Linked DNA regions of Homo sapiens: region 1 is linked to region 2. The links are contacts of gene promoters, found by promoter capture Hi-C in blood cells and fetal thymus (Javierre and others, 2016). All regions are on one chromosome and are shown on one strand. The core of a region is centred on a gene start or on the middle of the fragment in contact, and the rest is flanking DNA. Distances in the headings are between cores, read along the strand shown.

Evidence for each region. The method cuts DNA at HindIII sites, captures the fragments that hold promoters and counts their contacts. A CHiCAGO score of 5 or more calls a contact.
Region 1: a fragment that was not itself captured here is called in contact with the fragment with the promoter of FLNB in region 2 in 4 of 17 cell types (naive CD4 T cells, fetal thymus, megakaryocytes and 1 more); the score reaches 6.0 in naive CD4 T cells.

The regions. Positions count from the first base shown.
Region 1 is chr3:58,190,453-58,197,308 of GRCh38, reverse strand. DNASE1L3 (deoxyribonuclease 1L3) reads left to right here. Exons shown (of 8, transcript NM_004944.4): 7 at 3,870-3,966; 8 at 4,506-5,052. The coding sequence ends at 4,622. Among named protein-coding and RNA genes, the nearest start is that of DNASE1L3, 17 kb to the left of the region's middle. RefSeq lists an enhancer at 560-739. The HindIII fragment of the contact is 1,894 bases long and covers 425-2,318 here.
Region 2 is chr3:58,006,040-58,012,469 of GRCh38, reverse strand. FLNB (filamin B) reads right to left here and starts at 4,048. Exons shown (of 46, transcript NM_001457.4): 1 at 3,614-4,048. The coding sequence starts at 3,905. The HindIII fragment of the contact is 11,042 bases long and covers 1-6,418 here.

The DNA.
Region 1 (6,856 bases), core at 122-2,621, 190 kb before region 2:
TCGCTATCAGATAGGCCTGGATTTAAATCCTGACATTATCACTTCATATGTCTGTGACCAAGAGACAAGCTCTCTGTGTCTTTCATTTCCTCCCCTGTAAAATGGAAGTTATCCTAGTGCCTCACTCATGAAGATCCGATGTGGAGTAAATGAAATAACATGTCAGGCTGCTAGCACAATGCCTGGCATACGGCAAGTGCTCATTACATTCATGGGCTGATCATTGTTCCATCACAAAGACTTACCGCAATTGATGCGCCCAATCCCCATCATTAGGCATTGGGTTATTACCAAGGGTTTGCTGTTATAAATACTGCTAAAATCAATATCCTCTGTGCATTTTGTGCAAGTATTTATGATTTCCTCAGGAAGCAACCCTAAAAATGAGACCAATTAGTGCAACGGTATTTATATTTTTAAAGCTTTAGCTACATATTCCTAAATGCAATGCATACATTTAAGTCCTAGCATTCCCTCGTGCTTTTTAAAGTCCCTTCAGGGATTTTCAAACAGCTTTCATCTTTGCTCCTTCAATGGGGACAGAGGGGGGAGTGCCTGAGGCGTGTGAATGTTAGTGATCTTCCATCACAGAGACCACAGGTGGGGAAACCCCTAGGAGCCTGGTCCCAGGTGGTGGCCACAGTTCCCAGAGCTCAGCCTGCCACGAGGAAGTGTGAGATGGCCATCTGCATGAGAGCCACCAGGCCACTCGTTTTCACTTCCTCTCGGAGTTTTTTTTTTTTTTTTTTTTTTTTTTAGACAGAGTCTCGCTCTGTTGCCCAGGCTGGAGTGCAGTGGTGCGATCTCGGCTCACTGCAAGCTCCGCCTCCCGGGTTCACGCCATTCTCCTGCCTCAGCCTCCCGAGTAGCTGGGACTACAGGCGCCCGCCACCACGCCTGGCTAATTTTTTTTTTTTTTTGTATTTTTAGTAGAGACAGGGTTTCACCATGTTACCCAGGATGGTCTTGATTTCTTGACCTCGTGATCCGCCCGCCTCGGCCTCCCAAAGTGCTGGGATTACAGGCGTGAGCCACCATGCCCGGCCTGTTCCTCTTGGAGCTTTTGAGGCTGGTGTTTCCTTTGCAGAAGTTATCACTCTGCAAAGTGGGAACCCAAGGCGGGGAGTTACAGGGGTCTAAGTGCCCAGACCCCCTATTTTGAAGGACTTCCAGCAAAGCCTGGACGATGGCCACTCACTCAGTTACACATGGCAGTTGTGTGCCCGTGGGTAGGTCAAGTCCCTTCTCCAGCGCCATTCTTCTCCCCTGGCAAATGAGTGGGAAGTGATTGAAAATGATACAGAAGAATCAGAAGGCAACATGGCCACAGTAGATCAGGTCAGGGGTAGAACAGGTTAGAAAAAGATGTTTACTAAAAGGATCCTGATTTTATACACATGTATCCCAAAGGATGGTGGGATTACATGTGACATTTTAAAGATTCATTTCTTATTTTGATGCTCTGAATTTTGTTTCTCATAACAACATGTATAACTCTTGTGCCTCTTTTTTTTCTTTTTTTTGAGACAGAGTCCTGCTCTGTCGCCCAGGCTGGAGTGCAGTGGCAGGATCTTGGCTCACTGCAACCTCCGCCTCCCGGGTTCAAGCGATTTTCCTGCCTCAGCCTCCCAAGTAGCTGGGATTACAGGCATACACAAACATGCCCCGCTTTTTTTTTTTTTTTTTTTTTTTTTTGTAATTTTAGTAGAGATGGGGTTTCGCCATGTTGGCCAGGCTGGTCTTGAACTCGTGACCTCAGGTGATCCGCCTGCTTTGGCCTCCCAAAGTGCTTGGATTACAGGTGTGAGCCACCATGCCCGGCCTCTTGTGGCTTTTAAAAAGTCATAGGCCAGTTGTGGTGGCATATGCTGTAATCCCAGCTACTTGGGAGGCTGAGGCAGGAGGATCACTTGAGCCCAGGAGTTCAAGGCTTTAGAGCAACATGATCACATGCCTGTGAATAGCCACGGCACTCCAGCCTGGACAACATAGTGAGACCTGTCTCAATACAATAAAATAAAAAGTAAAATTAAATAAAATAAACGGAGAAAATGAAAAGCCATAAAAATGATGTTTTAAAAATGTAATTAGACAAGATGGTCTCAGTTCCAGTCTTTGTTCCATGTTCACATATTTATCAAACACCTCTCATGTGCTGAGTGCTGGGGGAACATGCAAAGATGCCCAGGATCTGGCTGGTGCCCTGGACTGAAAACGTCACATGAACACTGGCCTGGTCCTGCACATCCCTAGAAGAAGTCAGAAATGGAAGAGCCTTTAACATGTCATTCTTTGCTTTCTGAGTCTTAAAGAAAGCTTTCACAAATGTCTAACTTGATGCGAAGAATTTACATTTGGGTTGAATTAAAAGCCGTAGCCCGGGCCGGGCGTGGTGGCTCACACCTGTAATCCCAGCACTTTGGGAGGCTGCGGCCGGTGGATCACGAGGTCAGGAGATCGAGACCATCCTGGCTAACACAGTGAAACCCCGTCTCTACTAAAAAATACAAAAAAAATTAGCCAGGCGTGGTGCCGGGCACCTGTAGTCCCAGCTACTCGGGAGGCTGAGGCAGGAGAATGGCATGAACCCAGGAGGCAGAGCTTGCAGTGAGCCGAGATTGCGCCACTGCACTCTAGCCTGGGTGACACAGAGAGACTCCGTCTCAAAAAAAGAAAAAAAAAAGCCGTAGCCCTGGAGCGGTGGCTTACACCGGTAATCCCAGCACTTTGGGAGGTTGAGGTGGGCGGATCACCTAAGGTCACGAGTTCAAGACCAGCCTGGCCAACAGGGATAAACCCCGTCTCTACTAAAAATACAAAAATTAGCCAGGCGTGGTGGCACACACCTATAATTCCAGCTACTTGGGAGGCTGAGGCAGGAGAATCGCTTCAACCCGGAAGGTGGAGGTTGCAGTGAGCTGAGATGGCGCACTGCACTCCAACCTGGGTGACAGAGCATGACTGTGTCTCAAAAAAAAAAAAAAAAAAAAAAAAGTTAGTTGTGCTGGTGATGTTAGCAAATGCAGATACCAAAACTGTTGATTAGAATGGGGAAGGCCCACTGGTCACTCATGAAATGGCAGTTTGACTCACCTTGCCATTCCTCGGGAAGTCACTCAGGACCACGTAGACCACAACTGCATCACCCAACTTGGGATATGTTAGTTTGTTTCCAAAACTCATTTGACTACCTCATTCTTACTTTTTGTCATTATTGCAAAGCACATATGCTGTGATTTTTCTCGATATTTTCCATTAAATCGCTTAATTTCTTGCTGAAATAAATTTTTAAAAGAAATTTCATGATACTAGCATGAGTAAGAAAGCAGCAGCATTTGCCATAAATTGAAGGTAACGTAAAAATTAAGTCCAGTGAAAATCACGCCTTGTTAAATTCTGCCTTAATTCTCTTGCCTGCAGAATGCTCGGAGATGGCAGCCTACTCTCTGTCAACACGGGACTGAGGGAGGTATTAAAGACAAACCAGCACCTCCCTGAGAATTTCTCCATAATCAAATCAGGGAAAGTGAAAAATAATTGAAAAAGGAACAGCGTTCTCAGTACGCAAGTCATTGTTGTGTGGGATAGTGTGCGTGTGTCATATAAAATCTTCTCCTACTCCACCAGAACATTGCCCACACTGGGAGACAGTGTCCTGGTGTCCACAGAACCATGGCAGGGACTGATCCTATTTCACAGTTGTAGGCACTGTCCTTTGGGGTCACAGGCTAAAACCAGCTCTGGACTTTGAGCGCCACATGAAAGGGCCAGACTGCTCGGTTAATTCCAGACAGCAAACACAGACCTTGGTTTGATCTCAGCAATCACAGGTTGGATTAACACAACTGTTTTCCCTCCCCTTGTTCCAGGATTGTGCTTAGAGGACAAGAAATCGTCAGTTCTGTTGTTCCCAAGTCAAACAGTGTTTTTGACTTCCAGAAAGCTTACAAGCTGACTGAAGAGGAGGTAAGGTTGCCATCTTGTCTTTCTATGCCATTGTCCTGGAAAGATGAGTTAGCTTGGGCAACATGATGAGACTCCATCTCTATGAAAAATTCAAAAAAATTAGCTGGGCATGGTGATGCATGCCTATGGTCCCAGCTACTTGGGAGGCTGAGGTGGGAGGATCACTTGAGTCCAGGAAGCGGAGGTTGCAGTGAGCCAAGATCGCACCACTGCACTCCAGGCTGGGCAACAGAGTGAGATCCTGTCTCAAAAAAAAAAAAAAAAAAAGATGGGTTGATGCCACCCTTTGAGGTCACCACTGAAGACACAACATTGGGCACTAGACCTTGACCCTCAATGCCTATGATTCTGTGATTTGAGGCCCCTCCAAAATTTCTGATCGAGCTGGTCTTGGAATGACGCTTACCAGTAAGTGTTCTGTGGGGTGACTTCGGGCATTTCCTCTCCCCTCCCTGGTCCTAAATTTGCTCATCGCTAAAATGAAAGCATCTCCCAGGCATCTCCTAATTTCCATGTCTACCTCCCCTTTCTCCTTATAGGCCCTGGATGTCAGCGACCACTTTCCAGTTGAATTTAAACTACAGTCTTCAAGGGCCTTCACCAACAGCAAAAAATCTGTCACTCTAAGGAAGAAAACAAAGAGCAAACGCTCCTAGACCCAAGGGTCTCATCTTATTAACCATTTCTTGCCTCTAAATAAAATGTCTCTAACAGATATGAACTGCTCCCTGTACTTAGGAAACAAGAGTGATCCAACTGCTTTCATTTTTTGACCTGAATTTATTCTGACTTGAGCCAAATTGGAAGGAGAATCTTTTGTATCTCTCTTGGTCTCATACCTCCCCTGAATTGTCTAAAAGGGAACCAGGGGCATTTGTAGACCAAAATGATGATCTTCATGCCCTGAGCCAGAGCCCCATCCACTGTCACTGGCCCTGCTCAACCCTGTCATGCGAGAGGCTGCAGGGGGAGGAAGAGCGTCAGCTTTCAGTCCTCATGAGGGGTCCTGTTCCACACGCAATGACCAGAAACACCAAGGCCCCAGCTGCCCCTGTGATTTGGGCAATTAACTGTTTTAAGAGTCTGCCCCCTCCTCTCTGAGGTCAGGCCACCATCACGTCTCACAGTGTTGAGGGATAAAGGCCACTCCCACCTGGTTTCTCTGCCTTCGAATTGTCCTCCAACTCAGCCAGCCCAGGAAGCATCAGTGTCATCCTCTGAAATACTAATCTGACCACAGCCCACCCTCAGTCCCACCCTCAGTCCCACCCTCTGCCCATAAATCCTTCAGCGGCTCCCATCACCATGGGAGAGAGCTCAGTCTTGGCCACCATGAAGGTCTCTGCTATCTGGCTTATTGCGCCAGCCCCACCTTCTGCCAGGGTCCCACCCTGAACCCCTGCTCCAGGAGGATGTCCTCCGCCCTGCATACCCCATGCTCTCCCTCCCTGGGGGCCTTGGCTCTGCCCCCCCCATGCCCTGCCCTATTCCAGAGCCCGGGCCAAGTGCCCCCAGCCCTCATGTGCGCCCTACCTCTATTGCAACATCCACCACATTATATTTGTCACCAAGGTCAGTGTTGGAGGTCTTTGGGGCCCCAGTGTGACAAACACCTAGTGGGCTGGCTGGGACTCGAGGATTTTGTTATCTTTCTGCAATCAAGGAGGCTCATTGGAGTCCAACAACACAGCACCATTTAGCCTGTATCCAAGGTGCCCATTTTTGTTTGTTTTGCTTTGTTTTCCCTGATGTTTCTTTGTTCAAGTCATACACGAACATGGCTAAATGTGTGAACAGTACCGAAGAATAAGCAGGGAAAAGGAATGCCGTGCCCTGACCCCATCCCCGAGTTTCCTGTCTCAGAAACAGCCCCTCTTCCCAGCTCATGTGTTTTTCCAGAGAGTCTGCACAGAAATGAGCACTATATGTAACCTTAAAAATACAAAATATAGCACACCATATGCATGGTTCCACTCTTCGCTTTTTTCCTTTAATATATTGGGGATGATGTGACTTTTGATGTAGGAGAAAAAGACCTTAAGTCTGACACTTGAAATTATGTAACATCTGACTGGGGGAATAAAATCAAAAGGGCCCTGGTTAAGCACGGGAAGCCATCTTCCTCAAATGTCCAATTAACCTCATTGGACAAAGGTCTCACTGGAATTGGTGAGGGGTGAGTGATGGCAAGGCTGCTAACACATCTGTCACCCTTCTCCTAAGCCAGAGCTCATAGTCCCAGGAAACTTACCAGTTTCCAAGGTCCAAAATGGTCAAACAAGGTCAGGCGAGGTGGCTCATGCCTGTAATCCTAGCACTTTGGGAGGCCAGCCTGGGCAACATGGCGAAACCCTGTCTCTACTAAAAATACAAAACATTAGCCAGGCATGCTGGTACACTCCTGTAGTCCCAGCTACTGGGAGGCTGAGGCACAACAATTGCTTGAACCCGGGAGGTGGAGGTTGCAGTGAGCTGAGATCGTGCCACTGTACTCCAGCCTGGGCGACAGAGTGAGACTCTGTCAAAAAAAAAAAAAAAAGTCAAGCAAGTCATAAATGGGCTTATTCCGGAGAGAGAGGCTCATCCTTCTGTCCCAAAGTACTGCAAGCTCCGAAAGCCCACATGGCTGGGATAAGAACCCTGGCTGCTGGGGCTTGAGACTCCATGCTGGGTGGGGGAGGAATGGGAAGGAGGACCAGACACTAAATGAGTCAGTCCATGGCTCTGACTTGGTCCTGACACCCTGCAGCTTCCTCCCAACAAGACATCTCTCCACTCCTGCCCAGGAGCAGGTTACTGGAGCCACAGGCATCTGCCAGCTCTTATTCCGGCCAAATTCTGACAGGCAAGAGGGCACAGCGCAGGGCATGTCTCACTGCGCATAACCTAA
Region 2 (6,430 bases), core at 2,799-5,298:
TGGAAGGCAAGTCAGTTAAGGCTCCAATTCAACAGCTGGGCAGACCTGGGTTTCAGACACCATTTACTAGCTAGCTGGGTCACCTCCACAAGTGGCTTCACTCCTGTTTCCCATCTTTAAATAAAGATAATAATACTAACCATGGCAAGAGTATGATCAACCAAACAGAAACAAACAACCAGGCTGTTCTCCCCTAATTTTGAACGTCCCTTCGGTGTGCAAACCATTCGGGCATGACTTTTTTTTTTTTTTTTTTTTTTGAGTCAGAGTCTCGCTCTCCCAGGCTGGAGTGCAGTTACACAAAGACCTCGGCTCACTGCAACCTCCACCTCCCGGGTTCAAGCAATTCTCCTGCCTCAGCCTCCCGAGTAGCTGGGACTACAGGTGTGCACCACCATGCCCAGCTAATTTTTGTATTTTTAGTAGAGCTAGGGTTTCACCATGTTGTCCAGGCTGGTCTCGAACTCCTGACCTCAGGTGATCCACCCACCTTGGCCTCCTAAAGTGCTGGGATTACAGGCGTGAGCCACGGCATCCAGCCCTGGCATTACTTTTGAGATAATTATTAGACAGCACCTTATTTAATTAACAGGCGCCATTTTCTAAGCAACACATGCCCAGGACAGTGTTAAGCCCTGAACTCTCTAAGTGACTTGCAGAAGCAGATCATTAGAGATAGGGCAGTAGTTGCTGTCAATCAATGATTAGCATGAAAATTCAATGGGGTGATCAACAGAACACACTTAACACCCAGTAGGTGCCCCCAAATTGAAGCTAGTGTCATTGTCAGCACAATGTAACACAACCTAAGCAGTGAATATATGAACCTTAGTCCAAGCTGGAGGTAACTTTGCCTTGAAGGATGAAGGACCATTACCCACAACAGCCTCAAGAGCTTAGGGAAGAAGCCTCCTGCTTTATCCCCACAGCAGTCCTGGCACTTGCCAGGGCTCTCTGTGGTCTCCAGAGGCTGGAAAACCTGTTTGTTGCAAGATCTCTCGGGAGAGCAATTAGGCAGCCAATGATACAAGTCATAAATGTGGTCACACCCTTTAACCCAGGAATGTCACTCTGGGGAATATGATCCAAGAAATCATTAAAAAGGAAAAAAATAGAATGCAAGTTGTGGTAGGAACAGGAAGAAGCTGCCAACAGCCCACAGGCCCAGCACAGAGGAAGGGAAGCTAACTAACCCTGGAACGTCGGGACAATGGGAGTAGCTAGGGCCTGAGTGGATTCGAAAATAAAAGGAGGACCGGGCTGGGCGCGGTGGCTCAGGGCTGTAACCCCCGCACTTGGGAGGCCGAGGCGGGCATATCATGAGGTCAAGAGTTCGAGACCAGCCTGGCCAACATGGTGAAACCCCATCTCTACTAAGAATACAAAAATTAGCCGGGCGTGGTGGCATGTGCCTGTAATTCTAGCTACTCAGGAGGCTGAGGCAGAAGAATCGCTTGAACCCGGGAGGTGGAGGTTGCAGTGAGCAGAGATGGCACCATTGTACTCCAGCCTGGAGACAGAGCAAGGCTCCATCTCCAGGCGGGGCGGTGGTGGGGAGGGGGAGCAGGGAATCAGGAGAACCATGTAAAAAAATGTAGACAAAATCTAGAATGAGACCCACAGCCCCGGGCACTGATGAGAGACAGTGCTGGAAGTAGCTGCTGCCTCTGTAAACAGTGGGTAGATCAGGCAGTCTGTGATTTGCTAGTGCTGCGGTTTGGTTTGGTTTTGTTGTTGTTTTAGAGATTTCATGTCGTATTTGGATACTTCTGGTTTACTTTAAGTTTCTTTATTCAGTTAATTAAATAAATACACATTTTTAAAACAAAGAACAGATCCAAATTGAGCCCAGCTGGGCCTTGGGATTCTTCAGAGGGGAGGCTGGTTTCTGAATGGTAAAGAATTCCAGGAGATTCTGAGGTTCTCCCTCCCCAGTACAGGAGATGGACCCCAGAAAGAAGACAACAGCGTGCCATGCAGATTCTTCTGCAGGGAAGCCACCCTTGGGGAGGGGGAGGGCTGCTGGAGATCAGCTGGGTGGTGCGGCTGCCATCTGGGCCCAGGAAGCAGGAAGCAGCCTTACCTGCCAGGACAGGTGTGGGGGAAGGGAAGGGTGAGGCCCTAAGGCCCAGGGGAGGCTCAGCCTAGAGGGAATCCCTTTTCCACTGGAGAAAGTCCTGGCAGCCACACCCATCTCCCTTTCTTCCTGTCACTAGGGTCACTATAGTGACCTGGTTTCCTCAGGAAGAGACCCAAATCACAGGCCAGGGCCAGTCCCTGGTTCTCCTTAGGAAGAGATCCAGACCCAGAACCCTCCTCTGCCCCAACCCACACCCACCCACCCACATACACACACACACATACACACACCCATACACACGTGTAGGTGGATACACATTCTCTGCATACATTCCGTGTACATGCAAACTCTTTGCATATGCACATGCTATACACACATGCTATGTGTGTACACACGTTCTCTGCACAAACGCCCACATGCACACACACATCACAGCCCCTACCATCACAGCCCACACTATCAGTAGCCTTGTGGCCCTCTGGGAAGCCTCCAACTATCTCAGACCACAAGGGAGACTTCATCCTTATTCTTCCTCCCCAGACCAGAAGGCCCAGTCCAGCAAGAGACACCAATTCCCTCCCTCCTTTCAGGAAGACCCTGGTGTAGGTTTGGGAGAGGAGAGGAAAACAAAGCCTCCTTCTAACTGTTGCCCACTTCCTTCAGTTCTCAGCTGGGCCCTACTTGCTGACCTTGGACAGGTCAATTAACCCTCCGGACCCCCTTATCTGTAAAATGGGTCTAGCCTCACCCCAGATGGCAGGATGCGTAGGGACGGAGATAACTTAGAAGGCTGACGGTACACAGTGGACGCTAGTTGGGCTCCCTACAAGACAGCAATTACTGTTACCACCACCATCTCTAAATTATAACTTCGGCAGCAAGGAGTGGGTTCAACCTGCGGCGCGCGGCCAGAGCTGAGCTGGGAGCAGAGAGAGCGAGGACACACACCCGCGCCTACCCTTGCAACCTCGGGGCCCACACCCATTCCAGCGACGGCAGGGGAAGGTACCAGGTCTCTGTCTCCACCTGGGCAGGGAGGCCCCAGGCGCAGAGAACGGTTCCTCCTCAGGTCTCACGGCCCGGCCTCCGAGCCAACGCCCATTCAGCTGCCTCTGAGAGCACCAACCTGGGCGCAGCAGGGAGAGCACTCCGCGGAGCATCTGACCCTAGGGCCCGCCCCCGGGGACAGCGAACGAGGGTTTCTAGTCCCCTAGCTCCCATAGGGGCGCCCCAGGTGTAGAGAAATGCAACAACTCCACCTCTCCTCCTGTGACCCCAGCCCAAACCCTCAACCCTTAGCCAGCCAAAGGTGCACTGCTGGGGCGGATGGCGGGGAGCGATCACAACAGGTCCCATCCCAGGGGAAGACACCGGGGAGGGGGTCTAGGCCCCCTATAACCCACCCCTGGGGACGACTCCCCCTTATCTCCGAGGTGGGGGCGCGCTGCGGGAAATCCTCGCCCTCCGCAGGGGTGCACGCGCGGGGGCGGGTCGGCACCACAGTGGGCGCCTGGGCCCGGCCAGAGAACTCACCGATGGACACGAGCTTGATGCTCTCACGGTCCAGGAACTCGAGCGCCACGGACACATTCTCGAGCTGCATCTGGCGAAAGGTGGGCCGCTGATGGTACTTGCGGTACATGCGCTTCTGGCTGAGCACCTCGAGCAGCGCGATGAGCCGCAGCCCGTCGCTCAGGTCGGTCTGCAGGTTGCCGATGCGTTTGTTCACGCACTTGAGGTGCTCGTTGCACCAGCGTGTGAACGTGTTCTGCTGGATCTTCTTCCAAGGCGCGTCCTCAGCTAGATCCTTCTCGGTTACCGGCATCCTGGTGGCGGGGAGAGCGCAATGCGCAACGAGCTGCCGGGGACTGGTGTTTGGAGGCCCAAGGGCCGAAGGAGCGAGAACCGAAGCGGAGCGGGAGCGGGGTTCGAACTTGCTGCTACCGGAGCCACGGCCGGTGCTGCTCTGCGGCCGCCCGCCCCTGGCCGCGCGAGGCGCCTGGCCCCGCGCCTGCGCGCTGAGCCGCCCCGCCCCCAAGCCCCGCCCCGTCCCGACCCTCCCGCGGGAGTTCCTGGGCCACGCTCGCCTCCTGCCGCCTGCCGCAGGCACTGCGCCCCACTGCGTCCTGGGACCCGCGCTCGAAGCCCACCACCCCAGCAGGATGTAGGGCTGCCTGAATCACCCGGTCAGCCCCGGGGTGGGGGGACCCGCGGGGGCTGGGAGCCGGACAGAATGGGTCGGGCCTCAGTGGGACTTGCGGGAGGGGCGCGCGGGGCGGAGGTCTTCATCCACATATAGATTGAATAAAATTCAGTAAGGGCTTTTATTGAGCTCCGCCTGTGTACCAGCCATTCTTCTCAGAGCCTGCTAACCAGTAGTAAATCAGACAAACGTATTGCACAACCTCAAGGAGTTCACACAGCCTAATGGAAGAGAAAAGTGTAATTCCACCATAACCAACAGCCCAGTAGTGGTGGTAAAAATGAACAATAAGGCTTGTTGCATGTCTTAGTTTCCAGTTACTGCTGTAACAAGTTACCAAAACTTAGTGTCTTTGAAAACACACACCCACAAATGTATTATCCTTCAGTTCTGTAGGTTCGATGGCCCACACAGGTCTTGCTGAGCTAAAAACAAAGTGTTGGCAGGATGCATTCCCTTCTGGAGGCTGTAGGGAAGAATCTGTTTCCTTGTGTTTTCTAACTTCCAGAAGCTGCCTGCGCGCCTGACTCCTGCCCCTTTTCTCTGTGAAAGCCTGCAATGGGCTGGGCACAATGGCTCACACCTGTAATCCCAGCACTTTGGGAGGCCAAGGTGGGTGGATCACCTGAGGTCAGGAGTTCGAGACCAGCCTGGCCAACATGGTAAAACCCCATCTCTACTTAAAATACAAAAATTAGCCAGGTGTGGTGGCGCGTACCTGTAATCCCAGCTACTGGGAAGGCTGAGATAGGAGAATCGCTTGAACCTGGGAGGCAGAGGTTACAGTGAGCTGAGATGGTGCCATTGCACTCCAGCCTGGGCGACAGAGCAAAACTCCGTCTCAAAAAAAAAAAAAAAAAAAAAAAAAACAGAAAAGCAAGCCTGCAATGTCAGGTGGAGTCTCTCAGACCTCAGACAGTCCTCTCTCCATAGGCACATCTTCCTTTTTTTTTTTTTTCCTGCGATGGAGTCTTACTCCGTTGCCCAGGCTAGAGTCCAGTGGTGCAATCTCGGCTCACTGCAACCTCCTCCTCCTGGGTTCAAGCAATTCTCTTGCCTCAACCTCCTGAGTGGCTGGGATTACAGGCACCCGCCACCACGCTCCGCTAATTTTTGTATTTTTAATAGAGACGGGCTTTCACCATGTTGGCCAGGCTGGTCTTGAACTCCTGACCTCAAGCGATCCACCAGCCTCTGCCTCCCAAAGTGATGGGATTACAGGCATGAGCCACCTTGCCCAGCCTTTTTTTTGTCTCACTCCGTCTCCCAAACTGGAGTGCTATGACTCAATCTCGGCTCCCTGCAGCTTCAACCTCCCCACACCTGGCCCTTTTAAGGACTCTTAAGATGACATTGGGCCAGCTGGTTAGTCCAACATGATCTCCCTATTTTAAAATCAGCCGATTAAGAACCCTAATCCTGTTTGCAACCTTAATTCCCCTTTGCCATTTAAGGGAATGTTCACAGGTCCTGAGAGTTAGGATGTGAACGTCTTTGGGGGCTATTACTCTGCCTACCACAGCATACATTGAGCACTTACTCTGTACTCATCCAGGTTCTGTGCTAGGTTCTGAGATATGGCAGAGTCTCAGGCCAGCCCTCTGTTGATAAAAGCCTGAATAATTACAACAGCAAGCATTGAATGAACACCTGCTGTTCCTCTGTGCCAAGCACAGTGCAAAGCAATTTCTTTCAAGTCGGGTGCAGTGGCTCACACCTGTAATCCCAGCACCTTGGGAGGCCAAGGTGGGCAGATCACCTGAGGTCAGGAGTTCGAGACCAGCCTGACCAACATGAAAAAACCCTAGCTCTACTAAAAATACAAAAAATTAGCTGGGCGTGGTGGCGCATGCCTGTAATCCCAGCTACTTGGGAGGCTGAGGCAGGAGAATCGCTTGAACCCAGGAGGCAGAGGTTGTGGTGAGCCAAGATTGCACTCCAGCCTGGGCAATAACAGTGAAACTCTGTCTCAAAAAAAAAAAAAGAAGAAATAACCGAGTGGTTGAGCGGCTTGCCCAGGCCACACAGCACAGTTAGAACCATAATGCAAGTCTGTAAGAGAGGCACAGGGTGCCCTGATACCAGAGAAGGGGCTCCTAACCCGGTTTGGGAGAGGAGTTCAGAGCAGGCAAGCTTCTGAGGAAGAG